Regions from separate parts of the Homo sapiens genome. Here regions 1, 2 and 3 are each linked to region 4. Evidence: promoter capture Hi-C in 16 types of primary human blood cells and fetal thymus (Javierre and others, 2016). All regions are on one chromosome and are shown on one strand. The core of a region is centred on a gene start or on the middle of the fragment in contact, and the rest is flanking DNA. Distances in the headings are between cores, read along the strand shown. Region 1 has its middle 170 kb from the start of HDAC9. Region 2 has its middle 150 kb from the start of HDAC9. Region 3 has its middle 130 kb from the start of LINC02889. Region 4 holds the start of PRPS1L1 (phosphoribosyl pyrophosphate synthetase 1 like 1).

Region 1 (2,700 bases), core at 29-2,528, 300 kb after region 4:
AATATAGATGAGTTACTCTGAAATAATTTTTTATTTCCTACTATCTAACTTACCAAACTTCCTGATTTTAATTACATAACAATTTTTTGGTTATTTTAATATTCATTTGGTACTTATTTCCTTTTTTATTGTTATAGTATTAGATGAAATCATAACATCAATTTGCTCCTTTGTAAAAGAGGATGTTGAGTTAGAAGTGTTCTAAGGTGGCTTTCAGCAATAGGCTGCCATACCAATTGGAAAAATCTAGCATGGTATAAAAGAATATTTAAGCAGTAATTATGACTGGAAAACATCAGAGTGGAAATGAAGTATGGCTGAGAAACCTTTTTGCTTTTAGCTTTTTTTGGAGTTCATTACAATAAAATGAAATTATAGAAACTTAACCCATGAGTATTTTTCTCTTTGAACTTTAGTTCCTATTGAAATTGGAGAGGAAACTACACAGTAATCTAAGGGTGATCACAGGAGATGTCAGCTGCCTTCCAGGGCTTTTTGCAACGTGGAATTGCCTTTACTCGTTTATTGAAGAGTGCCCGTTATGTGTTGGGGCTGGACTCACAGTTTCTAGGGTGTAGATCTTAGCCATGGAGATCCAGACACTTACGGGGTTAGGATATTGGGAGTAGTGCTCTTATGCAGGGACAGGCTTGCATTAACCAAACTCACCAGATATTAGTGTATAACCAAAATGCAAATTTATTGGTTTACAATAAGAATTCTTTGCACTAAGTAATTTAGAATACACACGTAAACCCACTCTGTGCTAACTAACTGAAAGTCACTTTATAGGGAAAATCAAATTATAATTAGAAGATCATGTAATTTTTATCCTCATTTTGTGAATATGGTGTTCACATTTACTGATTGCAGATATTGAACCATCCTTTCATGTTTGGGATAAATCCCACTTGATCATGGTGAGGTGTCCTTTTAATGTGCTTTTGAATTCAGTTTGCTAGTATTTTGTTGAGGACTTTTTGCATCTATGTTCATCAGGAATATTGGCCTGTAGTTTATTTATTTATTATTCTTGTAGTGTCCTTGTCCGGCTCTGGTATCATGGTAATGATGGCCTTGTAAAATTAGTTTGGAAGTATTTCCTCCTCTTCAATTTTTTAATATAGTTTGAGAAGGATTGGTATTAGGTCTTCTTTAAATGTTTGGTAGAATTTGTCAGTGAAGTCATTAGGTCCTGGACTTTTCTTTGATAGGAAATATTTTATTACTGAATCAGTCTCCTTACTCATTATTGATCTGTTCAGATTTTCTTTTTCTTCCTGGTTCAGTCTTGGTAGGTTCCATGTTTGTAGTTCATTTGTTTCTTCTAGGTTATCCTACTTGTTGGTATATAATAGTTTATAATAGTCTCTTCTGATCCTTTGTATTTTTGTGGTATCAGTTGTAACATCTCCTTTTTCATTTCTGATTTTGTTTGGGTCTTCTTTTTTTCTTTGTTAGTGTAGCTAAAGTTTTGTTCATTTTTATCAAAGGGTACAAAATTTTAGAGTGGAGGAATCAGTTTTAATGTATGTATTTTATATTTCAAAATTATTGGAGAATAGATTTTTAACGTTCTCACCACAAAATATGGTAAGTTGGTGAGTTGATAGGTATGTTAATTAACTTGATGCATCTTTCTACAATGTATAACATAAATCAAAATAACATATTGTACTCCATAAATATACAATTATTATTTGTCAGTTAAAATAAATATGTAAAAATTATACTTAGAAGGCCACTTTGGTAAGTGTCGGCTTAAGAGTGAATGGAATAATTGTCGATTAGTAAACAAAAGAAATGTCATCTCTCCAAAAAAAAAAAAAACAGTGAATGGAATGAACTGTATAATTCAATGTTTGATGATACTGGTCTCTGATATTCTGTGCTCTCTGATTCACAAAAGTGATGTGCCTGTCAGGGGATCAGATTGCTCAAGAACATGGGCCAGAGTATAATTCCTGTTGATGGCACTTGGATCCAGATTATGTCTTTTGAAGCCTTCTGTTTCTTTCCTCCATTTCACATTACACTCTCCTTGCTGCCTTTTATGCATTTTATGTAGGCTTACTAACCCAGCTCTCTAGCTTAGTGCCTGGCCCCCAGAAGTACTGAAGAAATGTTTAACTACCGTTTAGCTAGCCACAACATTCTTACTAGTTTTGCTTTGGGAATAGTGTATATTTTACTTCTAAGGTACTTTGGGTCTATTTTATTGCTGCATTCTAAGGCTTGTGTGTATGTGTGTGTGTGTGTGTGTGTGTTCCGTGTGTGAGAATAATGGGAAGGTATGATACCCACCTCTCATACCTTGATGCTTTGGGAAAATAAAAATTTTCTGATTATATTATTTTGCAGATGTTCTAGTTATACTTATCAATCTTTTCTGCTTGCCAAATGAAGATTTAGATTGTGAAGATTCTTTTCAGAGACATAGGTTCAAAACTAAATGAAACCCAGGGCATCTGTAATTCTTCACACTTTAGTGAAGCTCTGTGATAATAGTGAGTAGATGTGTGGTGTGGGGACACTTGGGGTGGTATTTCAGACACTTAGATATTTGCCGGAAATCTGAAACTTGTTAGTTCACATTTAGTTTTCACTAAATGGATTATATTTTTCTCCTAAAACTGCTATTCCACTATTAAAATTAATGGACATACAAGATACCTTGTCTGTAAATAGAACAGATATTTT
Region 2 (2,870 bases), core at 44-2,543, 320 kb after region 4:
AGCCAGAAGCTGAGAGTGCAGGTCATTTTTCTTCATCTGAGGAAAGTGGAATAGCCAATCCACCACTTTGTTTTCTAGGTCTAAAATGATCTGTTCAGTCTTTCCTAATTCATGGGTGTGGCATTCATAGGAGAGGCTGGCGGCACAAAGGAAATAAGACATCTATGCATCAATTTCTTTATATTGTACCATGGGATGGGGGTTTTAAAAGTTGTTCATATTTGTTTTCTGCACCATACTGAATGAATATTTCACAGTAACTCTTTTTAGAACACAATACTTGGTGAAAAATAAAATTCACCGTATTAATGTAACATTTTCCAATCCTAGTTACCAGCACTGCAAAGTACACACCACTCAACAATTGCTAGAATATGTAGCTATGTGTATTTTTAAAGCATATTATAAATTTTCCCACTCTTAGCAGAAAGTGAAGGAAAATGAGCACTTCATTAGCAACACTCTTAGTTGTGCAGCCAAGAAATAAAACATGAAGTAAGGTTTCTAGATACTATGGGAACCCCATTATGACTCCCTGGGGAGGCTTAGGGGAGGATGTTTTTCATAATGAGTCCATGCAGAAAGTTTTAATACTAGAACATCCTTACTTAGACATTTGCTTAGATTTCTACCACTAATGGGAAAACAAAACTAACAAAAACAACAACTCCCATGTAAATTGTGTTTATTCCTATTCAGTTAAACAAAGGGATCTTAGACCAAGTTGATAAACTGCAACATGTTCTTATTTATTTTATTTTATCTTACGTTATTTTATTTTATTTTTTAGACAGAGTCTCAGTCTGTTGCCCAAGCTGGAATGCAATCTCGGCTCACTGTAACCTCTGCCTCCCAGATTTAAGTGATTCTCCTGCTTCAGGCTCCCGAGTAGCTGGACTACAAGGTGTATGCCACCACGCCCGGCTAATTTTTTGTATTTTTAGTAGAGATGGGGTTCTCAAACTCCTGACCTCAGATGATCCACCCACCTCGGCCTCCCCAAGTGCTGGGATAACAGGCACGAGCCACTGCACCTGGCCGGCAGTATGTTTTTAATCTGTATCTCAGTGCCCTCTGTTTTTACAAAGTAGATGATAAGTATTGAGTTTTGAAATAGATAAAGGGTTGACAGTCATAGATTCTTGCTTTTAATTTTAAGAGAGAAGTAGGTAGCAAATTTTGGAGTTGAAAGACGGATCATGCAGTAACTAGCAACTGTTTCTCAAAATTCCCTCATCATTAGGATCTCTTGAATTGCTGGTTTAAAATATCAGTTTCTAGGCTGCTCCACAAAATATTTTGGGTCCTGCAGTTGGACATGAAAAGCACAAGCACCCCAGGTAATTCTTATGATCAGGAGAATTTGGGAAACATTTATCTGATTTAATTAATTATAGAGGCAATGTCAGCGATTAAGAGGTAAGATATGGAGTATAGATTCGTATGTTCATTTAGGAAATGCTTAGCTATCAACACTTATTGAGCATTTATACTATGGACCAGATTTGAGCACACTTACTACATGTGTGATTTTTGAACTTGTCTTTTACCCTTTCTGAATCTCAGTTTCTCATTTAAAAAATGAGGATAATACCTTACTCATGGATTTTTGGGAAGGTTCAATTAGATATGCCCCAAGAAATGCTTAATTTTTCTGAAAAATACCACTGTTTTTAGGCATCTATTATACTGTAGGGGTCATAATTTAATTATTTCTATTAGGTATTTTTACTATACACCAAGATTTCATTATGCAATCACACATCTGTTGTTCTGAGCTGTGGTTCTTACTGGCATCTTTTGGAGATGTATTTAGAGGTAAAGAATCCTTTAACAACTTTTAGGATCCAAAATCTCCTAACACAAACTTTCTCCTTCTGCCTTCTCTTTAGCCCTTTTAAAATTGGTGTATTTCCTACTTAAACTCACATATTTCAACTTCTTGCAACACTATTAAAATTACAGCTACTATTTGTTAAGCACTTACTGTAATCCAGGCACAGTCCTGGATGCTGCTTGTATTATTTAATCTTCACAGTAGTAGTGCAGTTTAGGTATTATGACTATTTAAATGGAGTCTGAGAACACAGAACTCAGTAATTGAGACAGCATCTTATAGGTATGATGCTGTGAAGAACAGAAATTATTTTAATACCTGTATATCTGTCTTCAAGCCCAAGTTCTGTCCACTATAAGCTATTCCCATAACTTTAATACAGTCATTTTCCCAATATGAGAACATGAATTTCTCCCATTGGCTTCCTAATGGTTTTCTGTCACTCAGAGTAAAATTCAGCTTCTTTACTTACTAAGGCCTACAAAGCACTGCACCGTATGTCTTTCATGTTCTAAGGCTTTTGCATTTGTTGGTCCCTGTGCTTGAAACTGTCTTGCCTTAGGTAAGCTGTGCACCTCTCCCTGACCTCATTAGAGATGTCTTTCCAGATGACCTCCCATACTTGAGAACATCTACACACACACACACACACACACACACACACACACACACACACACACACACACACAGATATTGCCCTTCCTCCTTGCTGGCTTATTTTTTCTCTATAGCAGTGATCAACAGCTAACATCTTAACATCTAATATAGTTTTCTTTATTTTTTCTTTCTCCCAGTATAATGTTAGTGCCTGAGAATGGTAGCTTAATGTTATCTGCTTTATCCCCACTGCCTAGCACATAGCAGGGATGCAATAAATATTTGATTCTCAAACATTGAATTGGGGGACATATCTGATATTCTTTATGTTAGTAATTTTATAATTTTCACAGCATTAGAACTTCATATGTGATATCTTGGTGGTTACCCTAATATTGTCTTTGTTAAGTATACTTTTCTAAACAAAGTTCCTGAC
Region 3 (2,796 bases), core at 296-2,795, 340 kb before region 4:
CATATAACCACATTTGATTCTCATCATAACCCTGCAATGTTGTTCCCAGCAAGATGGTCTGTCACAGAATCCTTGTATGTGTATGTCCTTGTAGGTCAAGGCTTCTTAGCTTTCTGCCATTTGACAATTCTCCCTTTGTATGGGGAACGAGTGAACTTGACATGACCTGAATACACAGAATCCCAAGGCTTGGACCATTCCAGTCCCAAGAGATAATTTATATAAAATAAATCAAAGGAGGAGTAGAAAGTATGTGATTGCTTCAGTCTTTGTTTTGTCCTGTGTTGTGATAGTTTTACCAAGCACATGGCTCAGAGGAGGACCAAATGAGAAAGTGAAGCATTTATAACAAGATACCATCACTGTAGATTAACCTGAGTACAAAGGAAGAAGGTGGACACCTTACCCTGGGGGGAAGCAGGAAACAGACCCTATACCTGGAGCTGGCCTGCGGATATCTCCATGTCTGCCTCCCAAGATTGTAGGGTTGACAGATTTACACTGTTTCAACATGTAAAACGAAGAGGTGAAAACTTCACCAGCAGAAGGCTGAGAAACCACTATGAGCAATGCCTGCTCTTAATTCATGTTACCTTAAGTATAAAATAAAAAGGACTTAGTTGAAAAAACTCCTACCAGATTCCTGTTTTATGAAATTCTGAATTTTTTTATGTCTTAATCAAAAAACCTAAATATTTTAGGGCATGGAAAGGAGAATAGATTCACCCTTGAGCACTAGCCTAAATTAGTTATGAATTATTATGTTTATTTTGCAGGTGAGAAAATTGAGGCTCAGAAAGTCTGGAACTTTCTCTTTCCTCACATCCCTTTCGACAGTAGGGCACACGTCAAAACTGGTCATTTGGGAACAGTATGTTTTGGTACAATTCTTCCTTTCTTTCATGGACAAGAGTAATATTAATTTGATCAAAATAAGGCAAATGGACTTTGGCTTTAATAGAATTTTTATATCAAATATTTCCAGATAACAATGAAGTTCTAATCTGCAAAAGCTGCAGGTGTTGTTAGAAGAACCATCCTTCTATGGGTGGGGTGCAGTGGATCACGCCTGTAGTCCCAGCACTTTGGGGGCCAAGGAGTTCAAGACCAACCTGGACAACATGGTGAAACCCCATCTCTACTAAAAATACAAAAATTAGCCAGGCATGGAGGCACATGCCTGTTAATCCCAGCTACTCAGGAGGCTGAGGTATGAAAACTGTTTGAACCTGGGAGGCAGAGATTGCAGTGGGCCGAGATGGTGCCACTGCACTCCAGCCCGGGTGAAAGAGCGAGACTCCATCTCAAAAGAAAGAATCATCGTCCTATGAATTGGAATCTTATAAAAATAGCGCATCAACCAAATTGGGACAGAATTATTATATATATACATACGAAGAGAAAAATGGGAGACTGCCATGTGGGTCAGTGCCCTCAGGAGTCCCCAGCCAGAATCCCTCCCCCAGCACCACATCCAACTCCTAACTGTCCACACCTTGGCCAAACTCTGGGCATATCTGGACACTGGGAACATGTCCCTTCCCTGCCCCCTACAAACCATCGGCCACATTTCCACAATATGGGCATGGTTCTGCCTGTCCCTGGCTGCTGGAGACATCCTGGTGTCAGAGCTCCTGTTGGCAGTGCACAGTGTTGACGGGGAGCCATGAGTGCTGATGTAGCTAACAGTGCTCACCAACTGGTATTGTGCAGGCCTCACCCTGCTAGGTTTGCCCTCTGAGGCACCCTGAGCAAGCCAGCTAACAGCCAAAGGTGCTGTTCCTGGGAGTCTCAGCCACCCAGTTTCTGAATGACCCCAAGGGTTAGAGAGATCCACAGTTTGAAGCACCACCACAATGCATTTGCAACACTGTGGTTGGTAGACTCCAGTGTAGGTATCACGGATAAGCAGAGGTTGTTTTACAATCAGTATTTCTGATTTCTAAAGCCATCTCTTTCCACTAGGCCCCAAAGCTACAGAGGGTGAAGGCTAAGATCAAAGGAGTGGTGTTCTTGGAAAAACCAGAAGCAGAACTCATAGCATCAACACAACTGACCACAAGAGCAACAGTGCAGCAGAAGAATGGCCTCCCACAATGTAAGTTATAAGGTGACAACCTGGAGATAGGTCTCATCCCTCTCATGCCTCAGAGTAGGGAGAAGATATCAAGCAGATTACACTAGGCCCCGCTGACATCTAGGACTTTCCTTTGCAGACTACTTCTATGCTCTCTGGCATCTATAGCTCCATGAACCTTATTCTGCTCATTTCATTTGTTTCTAATTCAGAGGTGGTCACTTTCAATTGCCCAGTCTTTTAAAGGTGGGGAATTTTTGGATGGACTGAGCAAAGCCTTGAAGCAAAAGCAAGGATCTTTCTGGTCCCAAATACAAGTGGGATTTGAAGGTACCTGTTGCTGAGTAACCTCCGCTGTTTCCTCTCTGCTCCCTCTCAAGAACAAATCCTCCACCAAAGTCGGCTTGGATCTCACAATGCTTCATCATGAAGACGTGAGCAATCTTTCAAACTGATCTCCTTCTGCAAAGTTGGGGTGCAAAAGTCTTCCAGCCCAGGAGGTCATTGAAACCTTTAGCCTAACTCTTCCCATATTCTCTTTTCAAGTTTGTTGTTGTAGCTGTTGCTGCTGTTTTGGTGTTATCACTACTGAAATATAGTTCATTTGCCATAAAAGTTTACTCTTTTAAGGTGTACAATTCAGCGATTTTTTTTTTAGTATATTCACTTGTGCAGCCATATCCACTAACTCGAGAACCTCTTCATTACCTGAGAGAAAC
Region 4 (2,859 bases), core at 156-2,655:
TTATTGCTAGTTGTTCTGAAAAAAGAAAACTCCGAAGCATTTACATGTAAGCTTTCCAACCACTTTCAAACACCTCTACAAAACACCCTCAGAAGTCTGAAATCTTTGCAGCAGAAGGGCTGTAGTTAAAGCTGCTGGGCTAACAAAATCATCAAAGAAGCCAGATGAGACAACCCAGTCAGGAAATCCTAGTGATTATTCTTAACCTGTTTTTCCCTAATTTAAGGTAAACTCTTATATACCTGATGTGGGATGTAGAAAGTTACACTGGAGCAAGCTGGATCTTCTGCTGAACTTTTAATCAAACCTAAGAAAAAATAAAGGCAAGGTTTGTTTTTATTAATCTTATTTTATTTTAAAATAGCATAACCTAGAAGTTATTCTGTTATAAAGGAACATGGCTGAACAGGTAGGAAACAGATTCCCCATTATGAGTTCTCCTTATGGCTTCTGCAAGGATCATGGAGATGTCAATTACTCGTATTTTGGAGCAATGCTTCATCTTCTCATCTTGAGGTATGGTATTGGTGACTACCACTGCTTCAAAGCATGCAGTGTTGATGCGAGAAATGGCTGGGCCAGAAAAGATTCCATGAGTCAAGATAGCATAAACTCTGGTTGCTCCAGCTGAGAGAAGTTTGTCAGCTGCGAGGCAGATTGTAACACAAGTGTCTGCCATGTCATCTACAAGGATAGCCACACGATCATTCACATCTCCCACTAGCACTATGCAGTCCACTTCATTGGCCTTCTTCCGTTCTTTATGAATCAAAGCAAAGTCCACATTCAACTGGTCTGCAATGGAGGTCACTCTTTTAGCTCCACCAGCATCTGGCGAGACAATAATGCAGTTCTTCCACTCAGGGATATTCTCCCTTATCCACTTCAGGACAGTTGGCTCTGCATACAAGTTGTCTACTGGGATATCAAAAAAGCCCTGAATTTGAGAAGCATGTAGGTCCATGGTGATGATATGATCCGCACCTGCTATAGAGAGCATATTTGCAACAAGCTTGGCAGAGATTGGGGACCGGCTCTTATCCTTCTTATCCTGTCGGGCATAAGGGAAGCATGGGATGACTGCAGTAACTCGGCTAGCTGAAGCAATCTTGCAGGCATTAATCATGATCAAAAGCTCCATTAGACTGTCGTTGATTTCGCCACAACCACTCTGAACGATGTAGACATCCTCTCCACGCACACTCTCATCAATTTCCACGCAGGTCTCCTGGTTGCTGAATTTCTTAGTCACCACCTTGCCTAGCTCCAGGCCCAGGCGGTCAGCAATTTTCTGGGATAAGTCCTGGTGGGAGCTGCCGCTGAAGATTTTGATATTCGGCGTCTTGGCCAACTACCAGAGGCACTCCGTCGAGCGATCCAGCTGCCGCTGAGGCTGGAACGGAAGTGAAGCACAGACTCTAATGGCTTCCGGTTGTTACTCAACCGTTAGGGTCCCTTCCCCCTTGCGGCGCGCGGTCCCAAATTGACCCTGGGTCTCTTGAAAAAATTTCTGCTTGCCACCTCCCACTTCACACTTTTAGACTAAATAATCAAGTATTTACAGTGTATGGAGTTTTTTTCTATTAGCACCTATATTAGTTTCACAGGGCTATTTAAACAAATTTGAATGCATAAAAACATAAAACTACAAAGCAAAACCCAAGTTTAAAAGGAAAATTACCTACTAAAGTATATGCAAAAGATTATTTTAGAAAGAATTTCCCCAATGAAGTGAGAAAAAGACAATAAAATAGAAAGTTGAAAAATGGCATAAATAGGCAATCACAGTAAAAAAAAAATGGATAAGAAACGTGAAACAATGGAAGTAATCAAGAAAACGCTATTTTCACACATCAAGTAGCCAAAATGTTAAGATAAGGTCTTCTATTCGGATGGAATGTATAAATATGTAGATTTTGCATGGGTAATTTTGCACATAAACTTTGACTCATCATGTATACTTCTAGGAATCTATTTCAGAGAAATTTTCACAAGCACCCCAAATATATATGGCTACATAGTAGTGTAGCTGTATTCATTCATGCAATAAATATTTTGTGAACACCTCCTATATGTCAGGTATTATACTACTTCTAGGGTATAAAAATTGTGCATGACAAATAGTAATTGCCCTAGAATTGTTTATAAAAGCAAAATATGGGAACCAACAAATGTTCATCAATAGGTAAATTACCAAATAATTTATTGTATATACATATGCGACCATTAAATAGATTAAGTGTAATCATGTGGAAATGTCTCCTAGGTATTTTTTTAAAGGTAAAGTCAGTCACAAAAATATCATAGTATTATATTTATGTATTTAAGATTATGTGATACTGAAAGCATCCAATTAGCATGGAAGTCCTCTTTATAATAATTACCTTTGGAGAGGGGAGTAGGTTGTGAGAGTTGAGAATGAAGGAGGACTGTTACATTTTACTGCTATCAGTGTGGCATTTGAACATTTATTACTTTTGTAGTAAAAATGATGAACAAAATGTATTTGGTAATTAAATGTTTGTTAGCAAATTTTAAGTATACAGCTTCTATGGCGTATCGGGGCTGGAAATAGTGAGGAAGGAGGCAGAAAGGACCATAGATGCCAATGATTTCATAAAAATAATGGAGGCATCAGATACAGATCAACCATTTATATCTTGCTAATTGTGTGCCTGACATTTGGATACCAGGGTGTTTTTATTTAGCCTAAAACCAAATCATCATTTTTTTCATATTGTAAGATAACCAAATAATTTAAGAGATTTTCTCACCACACTTCTGGGCTTCCTTAATGTGTTGGGTTCATGAATAGGATAAACTCAGAAATGGGATAAGAAATGGGGTAGGCAACAAAGA

Evidence for each region. Contacts are between HindIII fragments. The CHiCAGO score rates a contact against its expected background, and 5 or more counts as called.
Region 1: a fragment that was not itself captured here is called in contact with the fragment with the promoter of PRPS1L1 in region 4 in 1 of 17 cell types (neutrophils); the score reaches 7.1 in neutrophils.
Region 2: a fragment that was not itself captured here is called in contact with the fragment with the promoter of PRPS1L1 in region 4 in 1 of 17 cell types (neutrophils); the score reaches 6.9 in neutrophils.
Region 3: a contact is called between a fragment that was not itself captured here and the fragment with the promoter of PRPS1L1 in region 4, in 1 of 17 cell types (M2 macrophages). The highest score is 5.0, in M2 macrophages.

The regions. Positions count from the first base shown.
Region 1 is chr7:18,327,740-18,330,439 of GRCh38, forward strand. It overlaps a transcript of HDAC9 not described here. Among named protein-coding and RNA genes, the nearest start is that of HDAC9, 170 kb to the right of the region's middle. The HindIII fragment of the contact is 3,573 bases long and covers 1-2,700 here.
Region 2 is chr7:18,346,837-18,349,706 of GRCh38, forward strand. It overlaps a transcript of HDAC9 not described here. Among named protein-coding and RNA genes, the nearest start is that of HDAC9, 150 kb to the right of the region's middle. The HindIII fragment of the contact is 5,296 bases long and covers 1-2,870 here.
Region 3 is chr7:17,690,455-17,693,250 of GRCh38, forward strand. No RefSeq gene overlaps it. Among named protein-coding and RNA genes, the nearest start is that of LINC02889, 130 kb to the left of the region's middle. The HindIII fragment of the contact is 3,289 bases long and covers 1-2,796 here.
Region 4 is chr7:18,026,441-18,029,299 of GRCh38, forward strand. PRPS1L1 (phosphoribosyl pyrophosphate synthetase 1 like 1) reads right to left here and starts at 1,406. Exons shown (of 1, transcript NM_175886.3): 1 at 330-1,406. The coding sequence starts at 1,342. The coding sequence ends at 386. The HindIII fragment of the contact is 3,750 bases long and covers 1,011-2,859 here.